Linked DNA regions of Homo sapiens: all the other regions are linked to region 2. Evidence: promoter capture Hi-C in human tissues and cell types (Jung and others, 2019). All regions are on one chromosome and are shown on one strand. The core of a region is centred on a gene start or on the middle of the fragment in contact, and the rest is flanking DNA. Distances in the headings are between cores, read along the strand shown.

Region 1 (2,700 bases), core at 166-2,665, 210 kb before region 2:
TGCTGGAGGGGGGCGAGGAGGAGACTCTTCGCAGGCTGGGCTTGGAACGGAACCCCCAGAGCTACCTGTACCTGGTGAAGGTGAGTGGCTGGCAGGGAGGGCAGGTGCCACCCAGGGATCTGGTGCCAGGGCTGGCAACCCAGCTGTGCCCTTCCTCCAGGGCCAGTGTGCCAAAGTCTCCTCCATCAACGACAAGAGTGACTGGAAGGTCGTCAGGAAGGCTCTGACAGTCATTGATTTCACCGAGGATGAAGTGGAGGTGAGGCCTCTTCCGGGACCCTCGCTTTCCTCCTGTCACACCCCCAAAATCTCCTTTTTTTTTTGTTTTTTATTTTTTGAGACGGAGTTTCATTCTTGTTGCCCAGGCTGGAGTGCAGTGGTGCAATCTCAGCTCACTGCAACCTCCGCCTCCTGGGTTCAAGCAATTCTCCTGCCTCAGCCTCCCGAGTAGCTGGGATTACAGGCGCCCGCCACCACGCCCAGCTAATTTTTTGTAGTTTTAGTAGAGACGGAGTTTCACCATGTTGGCCAGCCTGGTCTCGAACTCCCGACCTCAGGTGATCCGCCTGCCTCAGCCTCTCAAAGTGCTGGGATTACAGGCGTGGGCCAGTAATCCCTTTTTTTTTTTTTTTTTTTTTTTTGAGATGGAGTCTCGCTCTTTCGCCCAGGCTGGAGTGCAGTGGTGCGATCTCAGTTCACTGCAACCTCTGCCTCCAGGTTAAAGTGATTCTCATGCCTCAGCCTCCTGAGTAGTTGGGATTACAGACACCTGCCACCACACCTGGCTAATTTTTGTATTTTTAATAATGATGGGGTTTTGCCATGTTGGCTGGGCTGGTCTCGAACTCCTGACCTCAGATGATCCTCCCGCCTCAGCCTCCCAAAGTGCTGGGATTACAGGCGTCAGCCACCGTGCCCATCCCACCCGCAGAATCACCTTCCACCTTTAACACCCATTCCCACTTCCAGCCCCTTCTCTCCGACACTTCACCACCCACCCCTGCATGGCCATCTGCTAGTTGCCCTCTTGGGGCTCTCTGGCCCCTCTCACCCCCTCCTGCCCCCGGCCTGCTCCCCCAGGACCTGCTGAGCATCGTGGCCAGCGTCCTTCATTTGGGCAACATCCACTTTGCTGCCAACGAGGAGAGCAATGCCCAGGTCACCACCGAGAACCAGCTCAAGTATCTGACCAGGGTGAGTGGGGCGGGCAGAGGGCGACGGGAGGACGGCGGGGGCGGGGGCTGGGGGTGCACCCTCACCGTGTCCTCGCCTGCCCTTGGCAGCTCCTCAGCGTGGAAGGCTCGACGCTGCGAGAAGCCCTGACACACAGGAAGATCATCGCCAAGGGGGAGGAGGTGAGGCCGGGCCCTTGCCCTCGGGTGTGGAGGGGCAGCTGTTCCAAGGCAGCCCCTACTCCCATCACTCCCCTTCGCCTGGTTCCCTCAGCAATGCTGGAGGGATGGAAGGAAGGCTGCTCAGAGAAGCAGAGTGAGAGCCGAGCGCCGTGGCTCACGCCTGTAACCCCAGCACTTGGGGAGGCTGAGGTGGGCAGGTCACCTGAGGTCAGGAGTTCGAGACCATCTTGGCCAACATGGTGAAACCCCATCTACTAAGAATACAAAAATTAGCCGGGCATGGTGGCGGGCGCCTGTAATCCCAGCTACTCGGGAGGCTGAGGCAGGAGAATCGCTTGAACCCGGGAGGTGGAGGTTGCAGTGAGCCGAGATCACGGCAACAGAGCTAGACTCTGTCTCAAAAAAAAGAAGCAGCACAGTGAGCTGGCCAGGGTCACATAGGAAGAGAGTAACAGTCCGGCTAGAACCAGACTCCCACCTCGGGAAGGAGGCCTCCTGTCCCTCTACCACCTTCCCTCTGGGGTGGCCACCTGTCCTCCCTGAGGTCCCACTACCAGCACCCCTCCCCATACTGCAGGCTTGCTGGAGCTGGGAGTGCAGAGTGGTGGCGGCTTCCTGGTCTGCCTGAGCCTGGGAGCAGGTGGGATGCACAGGCTCTGTGGCATTCATCTCCTTGTCTCACGCTGCGTCCACAGCTCCTGAGCCCGCTGAACCTGGAGCAGGCCGCGTACGCACGAGACGCCCTCGCCAAGGCTGTGTACAGCCGCACTTTTACCTGGCTCGTCGGGAAGATCAACAGGTCGCTGGCCTCCAAGGTGAGGGCTCGGTCCACACTGCTCCCAAGGCAGAAGGGAGGGCCGTCGGCGAGGCGGGGGGTGCTGCAGGGTGGGGCTGGCACGCGCAGGGGGCCCACGCCTTCGGTTGAATGACTGCCCTAGGACGTGGAGAGCCCCAGCTGGCGGAGCACCACGGTTCTCGGGCTCCTGGATATTTATGGCTTTGAAGTGTTTCAGCATAACAGGTCGGTGCCATCTTTCCCCCGTCTCTCCTCCCGGTCTCCTGTCCTGCTCCCTCTCTTCTGTCCTCCAGCCTCTCATTCCTGCCCTGTGACTCCCCAGCCAGCCGGGGACTGTCTCTGTGTTTCTCACCTCCTGTGCTCAGGGGCGTCGTCCAGCTTTTCCCCTCTCCTGGTCCTGTGTCCCCACTGAGCCACTGTGGGCTCTTCTCCTTCCTTACAGCTTTGAGCAGTTCTGCATCAATTACTGCAACGAGAAGCTGCAGCAGCTCTTCATCGAGCTCACGCTCAAGTCGGAGCAGGAGGAGTACGAGGCAGAGGGCATCGCGG
Region 2 (2,700 bases), core at 59-2,558:
TCAGGCTTGGGCAGCAGCGCAGGCAGGGAAGGGGACTCCGCACTCATGTGCCCACGAGACCACAGCAGGCCCCACCCGCATTCCCACGCTCCCACACCTCCTGCCTCAAAGCCCTCACTCTCCTAAAAGCATCGAGAACACACAGGGCTCGGAGGCGCAGGAGTGCGAAGGCGGCATTCCAAGACGAGTTCGAGTCCAAGATGAGTTCAGGATCCTGAGCCTTTCTGGCAACTGCCTCCCTAGGCTGGGATGTGGGGGCGCAGCCCCAGGCCCCGGAGCTCCTTCTCTCTGCCCCAGGCTGGGATGTGGGGGCGCAACCCCGGGTCCCGGAGCTCCTTCTCTCTGGCGAGCTCCTTCTCTTCCACGCCAGGTCTCAGCCGGTCCAGTTCTGCTCTGTCCAAGACGCCTTTGCAGTCCCGGGTTTTATAGTCCAGCTGCCAGCCCGGCCTCCCTGCAGCCCAGCCGGTGCCTCGAGGCCGGTCAGGAGCGCGGATGGCCCATCCCGGGGGCGGATCGCAGGTAGCCCCGCGGCCAGGGAGGCGGCCCGGCAGAGGAAGCCCCCGGACAGCGGCGCCAGCTTCCCCCGGAGGCCTGTGCTAGGCCCGGCCCCTCGGCCACCGCACTGGGCCGTGCCAGGGGCGCGTGCGGGGGGCACGAGGCGCAGCGGGGCGCGGACGGCACCGAGGGGCGGGCGGCGTCTGGGCGCGCGAGGCTGGGCCCTGCAGGCGGCGGGGGGCTGGCGCCTGTGTCCCCGGTGTCCCCGCGCGCGGCCGGGCCGTGGCACTCCAGGTGTCCGCAGGGCCCGCGGGGCGCGGGGCTGGCGCGCAGGACCAGGGAGAGCGCGGCGATGCGGTGGATGGCCCTGCGCAGCGTGGCGATCTTGGAGAGCCTCTTGCCGCCCAGGTCGTGCCGCAGCGCCCGGCGCAGCGCGTTGAAGGCCTCGTTGTAGTCTAGGATGCGCTTGCGCTCCCGCACGTTGGCGGCCATGCGCCGCGCCTTGGACCGCACCGGCCGCGCGCGCCTCCTGCCCGCCGGCTCCTCCGCCTCGCCCCGGCTGCAGGAAGCGCCGTTCGCCCCCAGCACCCCCGAATCGCCCCCGGGCTCGGGGCAGGGGCCCCCCAAGTCCTCCGCAGAGTCCTCGGCCCCCTTCCGCGCCGTGAGGCCTAGTCCTGGCGCGCCCCGCAGCATGGCCTTCCCGGGCACTCGCCCTCTGCCCCAGCCCCGGCCCTCTGCCCTCTGCCCTCTGCCCACTGCCTTGGCCCGGCTCGCGACGCGGACGGTCCCCGGCTCCTGGGGCTGGACACTCCCGAGACAGGCCCCTTCCAGCTGGGCTTTATGGCACCACGCGGCGCCCCGCCCTCCCGTCCATCCATCTCCCTCCTCCTGCTTTATTATCGGCCTCCAGGTAGGTCGGCGGGGGAGGAACCGAGGGGAAGAAGGAAAGCAAGGAGGGAAGCTTGCAGGTTCTTGTAAGCGGGGACCAGACGGGCAGCCCGGCCACGCTGCCCCGGGGACCTTGCCCTGCCTAGCTCTGGGGCCGCTGTGGGGTGTCTGGGTTCCACATTCTTCCTCCCCATTCCCAGATAAGGTGCTAAGTTTGGCTTCTAGCAGGAGAGCTGATAGGAATAAAAAGAGGCAGAGGGCCGGGCACTGGGGCTCACGCCTGTCATCCCAGCAGTTTGGGAGGCCGAGGCGGGCGGATCACTTGAGTTCAGGAGTTCGAGACCAGCCTGGCCAACAGAGTATATAAAACCCCGTCTACTAAAAACACAAAAATTAGCCGGGCGTGGTGGCAGGCGCCTGTAATCCCAGTTACTCGGGAGGCTGAGGCAGGAGAATGGCTTGAGCCCAGGAGCTGGAGGTTGCAGTGAGCCGAGATCGCACCACTGCACTCTAGCCTGGGAGACAGAACGAGACTCCGTCTCAGAAAAACAACAACAAAAACAACAACAAAACCTTGAAAGTTCTTGTCAAGTCCCGTGGGCAACCACAGAGATGTCACTGAGGAAAAGCATGAGTGTCCCGGCAGGACTCATATGGGAGGCGCAGGGCCCTGCAGGTAAAGCTGACCCAGAGCTTCCGGCTTTTTCAGCTATGGAGGGCGGCTGGCTGCAATTGGGGTTCGGGTTTTGGTTGGGCCTGACTCTCCCTCCACTGCCCTTTGACTCCCCTTCTGCAGGCAGAGCTGGGATGAGTCAGCAGCAGAGGGTGACGGGGAAGATCCCTTTGCAGCCCTGGGTCCACATCAGGGGCATCTTTGGGGTCCAGAGCCCTCGGGCAGCCCCATCTTGTGACACAGCCCTGCCAGGTTATGAACTCAATGAGCAGCCTCTGTCCTCTTCCCCCAGGGATTTGCATTTGAAAGAGGGTCTCAGAAAAAAGATGATGTTTATTCCCAAAGAAAGACCCCCAGTAGAATTTCCGGCATCCACAGCTGAGTTATTTGGAGCGCCTGAAGGCCACTCATTCCCAGTCACAATCCAAATGCCTCTAAGATGCCAAGGCCTATGGCATTGGAATGGGTGTGTGGTTCACATCCATCTCGCCAAAAGAGCATTGCCAATAACCCCATTATTTCAAACTGTGAATTTCTCCATAAAAGAAAATAATAAGGCATTAGGAAGCAGAGTGTATGTATTTACTTCTGTGATTGTCTGCCTTGCCCACTAGGATGAAAGCATCCTAAGGACATCTGTATTT
Region 3 (2,700 bases), core at 185-2,684, 170 kb before region 2:
CACAGAGCCAGACCCTATCTCAGAAAACAAAAACAAAACCGCAGCCTGGGCAGTAAAGCAAGACACTGTCTCTATAAAAAAAATTTCAAAATCAGCTGGGTGAAGGGCCGGGCACAGTGGCTCACGCCTGTAATCCCAGCACTTTGGGAGGCCGAGGTGGATGGATCACGAGGTCAGGAGTTGTAGACCAGCCTGGCCAAGATGGTGAAACCTTGTCTCTACTAAAAATACAAAAATTAGCCGGGTGTGGTGGCGCGGGCCTGTAGTCCCAGCTACTCGGGAGGCTGAGGCAGGAGAGTTGCTTGAACCCGGGAGGTGGAGGTTGCCGTGAGCCAAGATGGCTCCAGTGCACTCCAGCCTGGGTGACAAGAATGTGACTCCATCTCAAAAAAAAAAATCAGCTGGGTGCAATGCCACCCGCACCTTTAGTCCCAGCTACTCAGAAGGCTGAGGTGGGAGAATATCTTGAGCCCAGGAGTTTGAGACTGCGGTGAGCTGTGATCACACTACTGCACTCCAGCTTGGACAACAGAGTTAGACCCTGTCTCTAAAAAGAAATAACAAAATCATGTACTCAGGAGACTAAGGTGAGAGGATCGCTGGACCCAGGAGTTTAAGATGAGCCTGGGCCACATAGGGAGTCTCCTGTCTCAAAAAACAAAGCCAAGGCCAGGCGTGGTGGCTCACGCCTGTAATACTAGCACTTTGGGAGGCCAAGGCAGATGGATAACTTGAGCTCAGGAATTCGAGACTGGCTTGGGCAACATGGCGAAATCCCATTACTACAAAAAATTAGTTGGGCGTGGTGATGCGTGCCTGTAGGCCCAGCTACTCAGGAGGCTGAGGTAAGAGGATGGCTTCAGCCTGGGAGGTAGAGGTTGCACTCAGCTGAGGTCTGCACTCCCGCCTGGGTGACAGAGCCAGACCACTCTGTCACAAGACAACAACAAAGCCAAAAACTCACAAAACTCATTTGGATTTTAGGTTTTTTGAGACAAGGTCTCTCTCTTTTGCCCAGGCTGGAATGCAGTGGCATGATCACGACTCACGGTAGCCTTGACTCCCTGGGCTCAGGCGATTCTCCCACCTCAGCTTCTCGAGAAGCTGGGACTAACAGACATGCACCACCTTGCCTGGCTAATGGTTTTTTTGTTTGTTTGTTTGTTTGTTTTTGAGACGAAGTCTCGCTCTCCTGTCCTCATGATCCACCCGCCTCGGCCTCCCAAAGTGCTGGGATTACAGGTGTGAGCCACGTGCCCGGCTTGTTTTTTGTTTTTTTAGGAGATTGGGTCTCACTTTATTGCCCAGGCTGGTCTTGAACTACTGGCCTCAATCAGTCCTCCTGCCTTGGCCTCCCAAAGTGCTGGGATTACAGACGTAAACCACTGTGCCCAGTCATTTTTTTTCAAACATTTATTTTTTCTTTTTTTAAGAGTCAAGGTCTTGCTCGGTCCCCCAGGCTGGAGTGCGTTGACACGATCATGGCTCAGTGTACTCACAAACTCCTAGGCTCAAGCGATCTCTCACCTCAGCCTCCCAAGTAGCTGCAACTGCAGGCATGCACCACTATGCCTGGCTAATTTTTTTTTTTTTTTTGAGACAGAGTCCCGCTCTGTCGCCCAGGCTGGAGTGCAGTGGCGCGATCTCGGCTCACCGCAAGCTCTGCCTCCTGGGTTCATGCCATTCTCCTGCCTCAGCCTCCCTAGCAGCTGGGACTACAGGTGCCCACCACCACGCCCAGCTAATTTTTTGTATTTTTAGTAGAGACGGGGTTTCACCGTGTTAGCCAGGATGGTCTTGATCTCCTGACCTTGTGATCCACCTGCCTCAGCCTCCCAAAGTGCTGGGATTACAGGCGTGAGCCACCGCGCCTGTCCAACCTGGCTAATTTTTAAATAATTTTTGTAGTGATGAGGTCTTGGCTGTGTTGCCTACGCTGGTCTCAAAATCCTGCACTTAAGTGATCCTCCCACCTCAGCCTCCTAAAGTTCTAGGATTACAGGTGTGAGGCACCACGCCCAACAAAATTCATTTTCTTTTTTTTGTTTGTTTGACACAGAGTCTTGCTCTGTTGCCCAGGCTGGAGTGCAGTGGCGTGATCATGGCTCACTGTAGCCTTGACCTTCCAGGCTCAAGCCATCCCCCTACCTGAGTGTCCTGAGTAGCTGGGACTACAAAAGTGTGCCACCATGCCCAGCTAATTTTTTAAGTTTTTTGCAGTGACAGCCATGTTGCCCGGGTTGGTCTTGAACTCCTGAGCTCCAGGGATCCACCTGCCTCAGCTTCCCTAAGTGCTGGGGTTAGAGATGTGAGCAACCGTGCCCAGCTAAAACTCATTCTCTATGGAGAATGTTTACTAGTTGTTATTATTAGAGAGTTGTTTATTACTTCTTCAGGAAACCATAATGTGAAAAATCCAATGAAAATAGTTTGCTGTTTTGGGTGCTTAGCCGAGTGGGAGTTAAAGGTTTGCATTCCTAATTAGAAACTTTGTGGCCGGGTGCAGTGGCCCACACCTGTAATCAATCCCAGCACTTTGGGAGGCCGAGGCGGGTGGATCACTAGGTCAGGAGATCGAGACCATCCTGGCTAACACGGTAAAACCCCGTCTCTATTAAAAATACAAAAAAAATTAGCCAGGCATGGTGGCGGGTGCCTGTAGTCCCAGCTACTCGGGAGGCTGAGGCAGGAGAATGACGT
Region 4 (2,700 bases), core at 48-2,547, 130 kb after region 2:
GAATGAGCTGTCCCCCAGGAGCGAGCTGCCCCCCAGGAGCGAGCTGCCCCCCAGGAATGAGCTGTCCCCCAGGAGCGAGCTGTCCCCAGGAATGAGCTGTCCCCCAGGAGCGAGCTGTCCCCCAGGAGTGAGCTTCCTCCCAGGAGTGAGCTGCCCCACAGCCTCTGCCCGGCCTCCAGTTGCCGCTTTGCTGGGCTAATGAGGGGCTCCAGGCCTCGGGGTGAGGGTGGCGCTGTCTGTGCTCCCAGTGGCTGCTACAGGCCAGGCCGAGGGTCCTGAGTGAATGAGACAGGGGCCGACCCCCACCCACCCCTGCCTGTCTGTGGTTCACAATCAGAGCAAAGCCCTTTCCGTCCGTCTTGTCTTCTCTTCCCCAGCGAATCCCACAGTCCCCAAGACTGAGGACAAGCCCTGCCTCTTCCGGGCAGCCTTCCCTGTGCTGGCTGAATTGATCACGCGCCTGGCTGATGGCTTCATAGGCTGCTTCAGAGTATTTTTTTTTTTTTTTTGAGATGGAGTTTCGCTCTTATCGCCCAGGCTGGAGTGCAATGGTGTGATCTCAGCTCACTGCAACATCCGCCTCCCGGGTTCAAGCGATTCTCCTGCCTCAGCCCCCCGAGTAGCTGGGATTACAGACATCTGTCACCATACCCGGCTAATTTTTATATTTTTAGTAGAGACGGGGTTTCTCTATGTTGGCCAGGCTGGTCTCGAACTCTCGACTTCAGGTGATCCGCCTGCCTCGGCCTCCCAAAGTGCTGGGATGACAGGCGTGAGCCACTGTGCCCAGCAAGAGTCTTAGTTCCATTTGGTTGTAAAGACGCTCACTTCAGTGTCCCTGTCTGAACCTGGCGGCTCTTGGCCTTCCTATACATTAGAGTCACCTGGGGAGCTTTTAACAGGCCTGATGCCCAGGCCATTCCATACCAATTCAGTAGCAATCCCTGGGGTAGGAGCCAGAGAGCTTCCCAACTCCCCAGGGATTCCAGTGTGCAGTGAAGATTGGAACAGTTATCTTAGGATTCAAGTCATGAACTGGCCGGGCGCAGTGGCTCACACCTGTAATCCCAGCACTTTGGGAGGCCGAGGCAGGTGGATCACCTGAGGTCAGGAGTTTGAGACCATCCTGGCTAACATGGTGAAACCCTACCTCTACTAAAAATACAAAATTATCCGGGCGTGGTGGCGGGCACCTGTAATCCCAGCTACTCAGGAGACTGAGGCAGGAGAATTGCTTGAACCGGGGAGGTGGAGGTTGCAGTGAGCCAAGATTGTGCCATTGTACTCTAGCGTGGGAGACAGAGCAAGACTCTGTCTCCAAAAAAAAAAAGAATTTAAGTCGTAACTAGTCCACCAGCCTGTGCTGAATGGAGGCTGACTGATGAACAGCAGAGTTAGCTGACAAAGCTTGCTGTAGTCTTAACTCACTGCAAATTGCCAAAGCCCTGGTTTGTTTTTTAAGGGCTGGGAGGTCCCTAAGGGTTCTTGGTACTCAGGAAGGAGAGCAGGGGAATAATGATAATAGCTGCCGTTTTGTTAGCGCCAGCTTTGGGTGCCTTGCATAGCATATATTTCCTCATTGTAACCTCGCAAAAGCTTCATGAGGTATAGATCTTGTTTTTATCCTCATTTTAGAGATGAGAAAACTGAGGCTCTGAATGGCTAAGTAGCTTGCCCAAGGTCACATGGCTAAGGTCACATTCCCGAAGTGCTAATCTCAGGAATGGAACCCGAGTGTGATTCCAAAGCCTCTGCCCTTGACCACTGAGCTGTCCTGGCTCCCCAACCTCTGCTCCATCAATCAAAGAATGGGGGGCCCTGAGAAGGAGGTGGCTTGTCCCGTGGGAAAGATGCTGGTTTCCAGGATTCCTCCCCTTGGAGCCAGGCCCTGACTGAGGGGCTCCCGATGGTATTAAATATCTCCTGGATCAGCTGGGGTCACCTGGACCCTGAAGGTGTCTACTTTCCCGTTGCCTACGACACCCACTCGGCTTCAGCTGAGCTTTCCCAAGGACCCTTCTGCCCTGATACTGTGCCCAGTTCTTTAACCTACATCATGTTATTTAATGTCATTTTCACAACCACCCTGTGACATGGTATCGTTATCCTCATCTTGTTTCTTTGAGACAGTCTCACTCTGTCACCCAGGCTGGAGTGCTGTGGTGCGATCTCAGCTCACTGCAACCTCTGCCTCCCAGTGCAATAGAAGACTGGCCGGGCGCGGTGGCTCACACTTGTCATCTCAGCACTTTGGGAAGCCGAGGTGGGCGGATCACTTGAGGTCAGGAGTTCGAGACCAGCCTGGCCAACATGGTGAAACCCCATCTCTACTAAAAATACAAAAATTAGCCGGGCATGGTGGCGGGTGCCTGTGATCCCAGCTACTTGGGAGGCTGAGACAGGAGAATTGCTTGAACCTGGGAGGCGGAGGTTGCAGTGAGCTGAGATCCCACCACTGCACTCCAGCCTGGGTGACAGATTGAGACTTCGTCTCCAAAAATAAATAAATCAATAAAATAAAGTGCAGTAGAAGACAGTGTCCTTATTGTTGTAGGTGAGGTGGTAGATTTTGTATCTGAGCCACCATCCCTGCTGAAATTGCCCCGGACAGGCTGATCTGGTACAGGTGGCACCTGGGAAGTGGCAGCCTCGCTTCCGCTGGCCAGTTCCCTGGTTCAGGGTTGCCGGCCTCCCAGATCC

Evidence for each region. The method cuts DNA at HindIII sites, captures the fragments that hold promoters and counts their contacts. A contact is called where the count stands out against the background at its distance.
Region 1: a contact is called between a fragment that was not itself captured here and the fragment with the promoter of BHLHA9 in region 2, in 1 of the 25 tissues and cell types used here (spleen).
Region 3: a fragment that was not itself captured here is called in contact with the fragment with the promoter of BHLHA9 in region 2 in 1 of the 25 tissues and cell types used here (stomach).
Region 4: a contact is called between a fragment that was not itself captured here and the fragment with the promoter of BHLHA9 in region 2, in 2 of the 25 tissues and cell types used here (adrenal gland and mesendoderm cells).

What each region holds. Positions count from the first base shown.
Region 1 is chr17:1,478,086-1,480,785 of GRCh38, reverse strand. It overlaps MYO1C (myosin IC), which reads left to right. Exons shown (of 32, transcript NM_001080779.2): 6 at 1-80; 7 at 161-259; 8 at 1,081-1,194; 9 at 1,284-1,355; 10 at 2,051-2,170; 11 at 2,294-2,376; 12 at 2,594-2,699. Among named protein-coding and RNA genes, the nearest start is that of MYO1C, 13 kb to the left of the region's middle. The HindIII fragment of the contact is 9,477 bases long and covers 1-2,700 here.
Region 2 is chr17:1,269,052-1,271,751 of GRCh38, reverse strand. It overlaps BHLHA9 (basic helix-loop-helix family member a9), which reads right to left and starts at 1,308. Exons shown (of 1, transcript NM_001164405.2): 1 at 1-1,308. The coding sequence starts at 1,188. The coding sequence ends at 481. RefSeq lists enhancers at 156-906, 2,511-2,700. The HindIII fragment of the contact is 29,201 bases long and covers 1-2,700 here.
Region 3 is chr17:1,439,195-1,441,894 of GRCh38, reverse strand. The region is part of intron 1 of CRK (CRK proto-oncogene, adaptor protein); the gene reads left to right. Among named protein-coding and RNA genes, the nearest start is that of CRK, 16 kb to the left of the region's middle. The HindIII fragment of the contact is 5,312 bases long and covers 1-2,700 here.
Region 4 is chr17:1,140,395-1,143,094 of GRCh38, reverse strand. All of the region lies in intron 1 of ABR (ABR activator of RhoGEF and GTPase), which reads left to right. Among named protein-coding and RNA genes, the nearest start is that of ABR, 38 kb to the left of the region's middle. The HindIII fragment of the contact is 6,228 bases long and covers 1-2,700 here.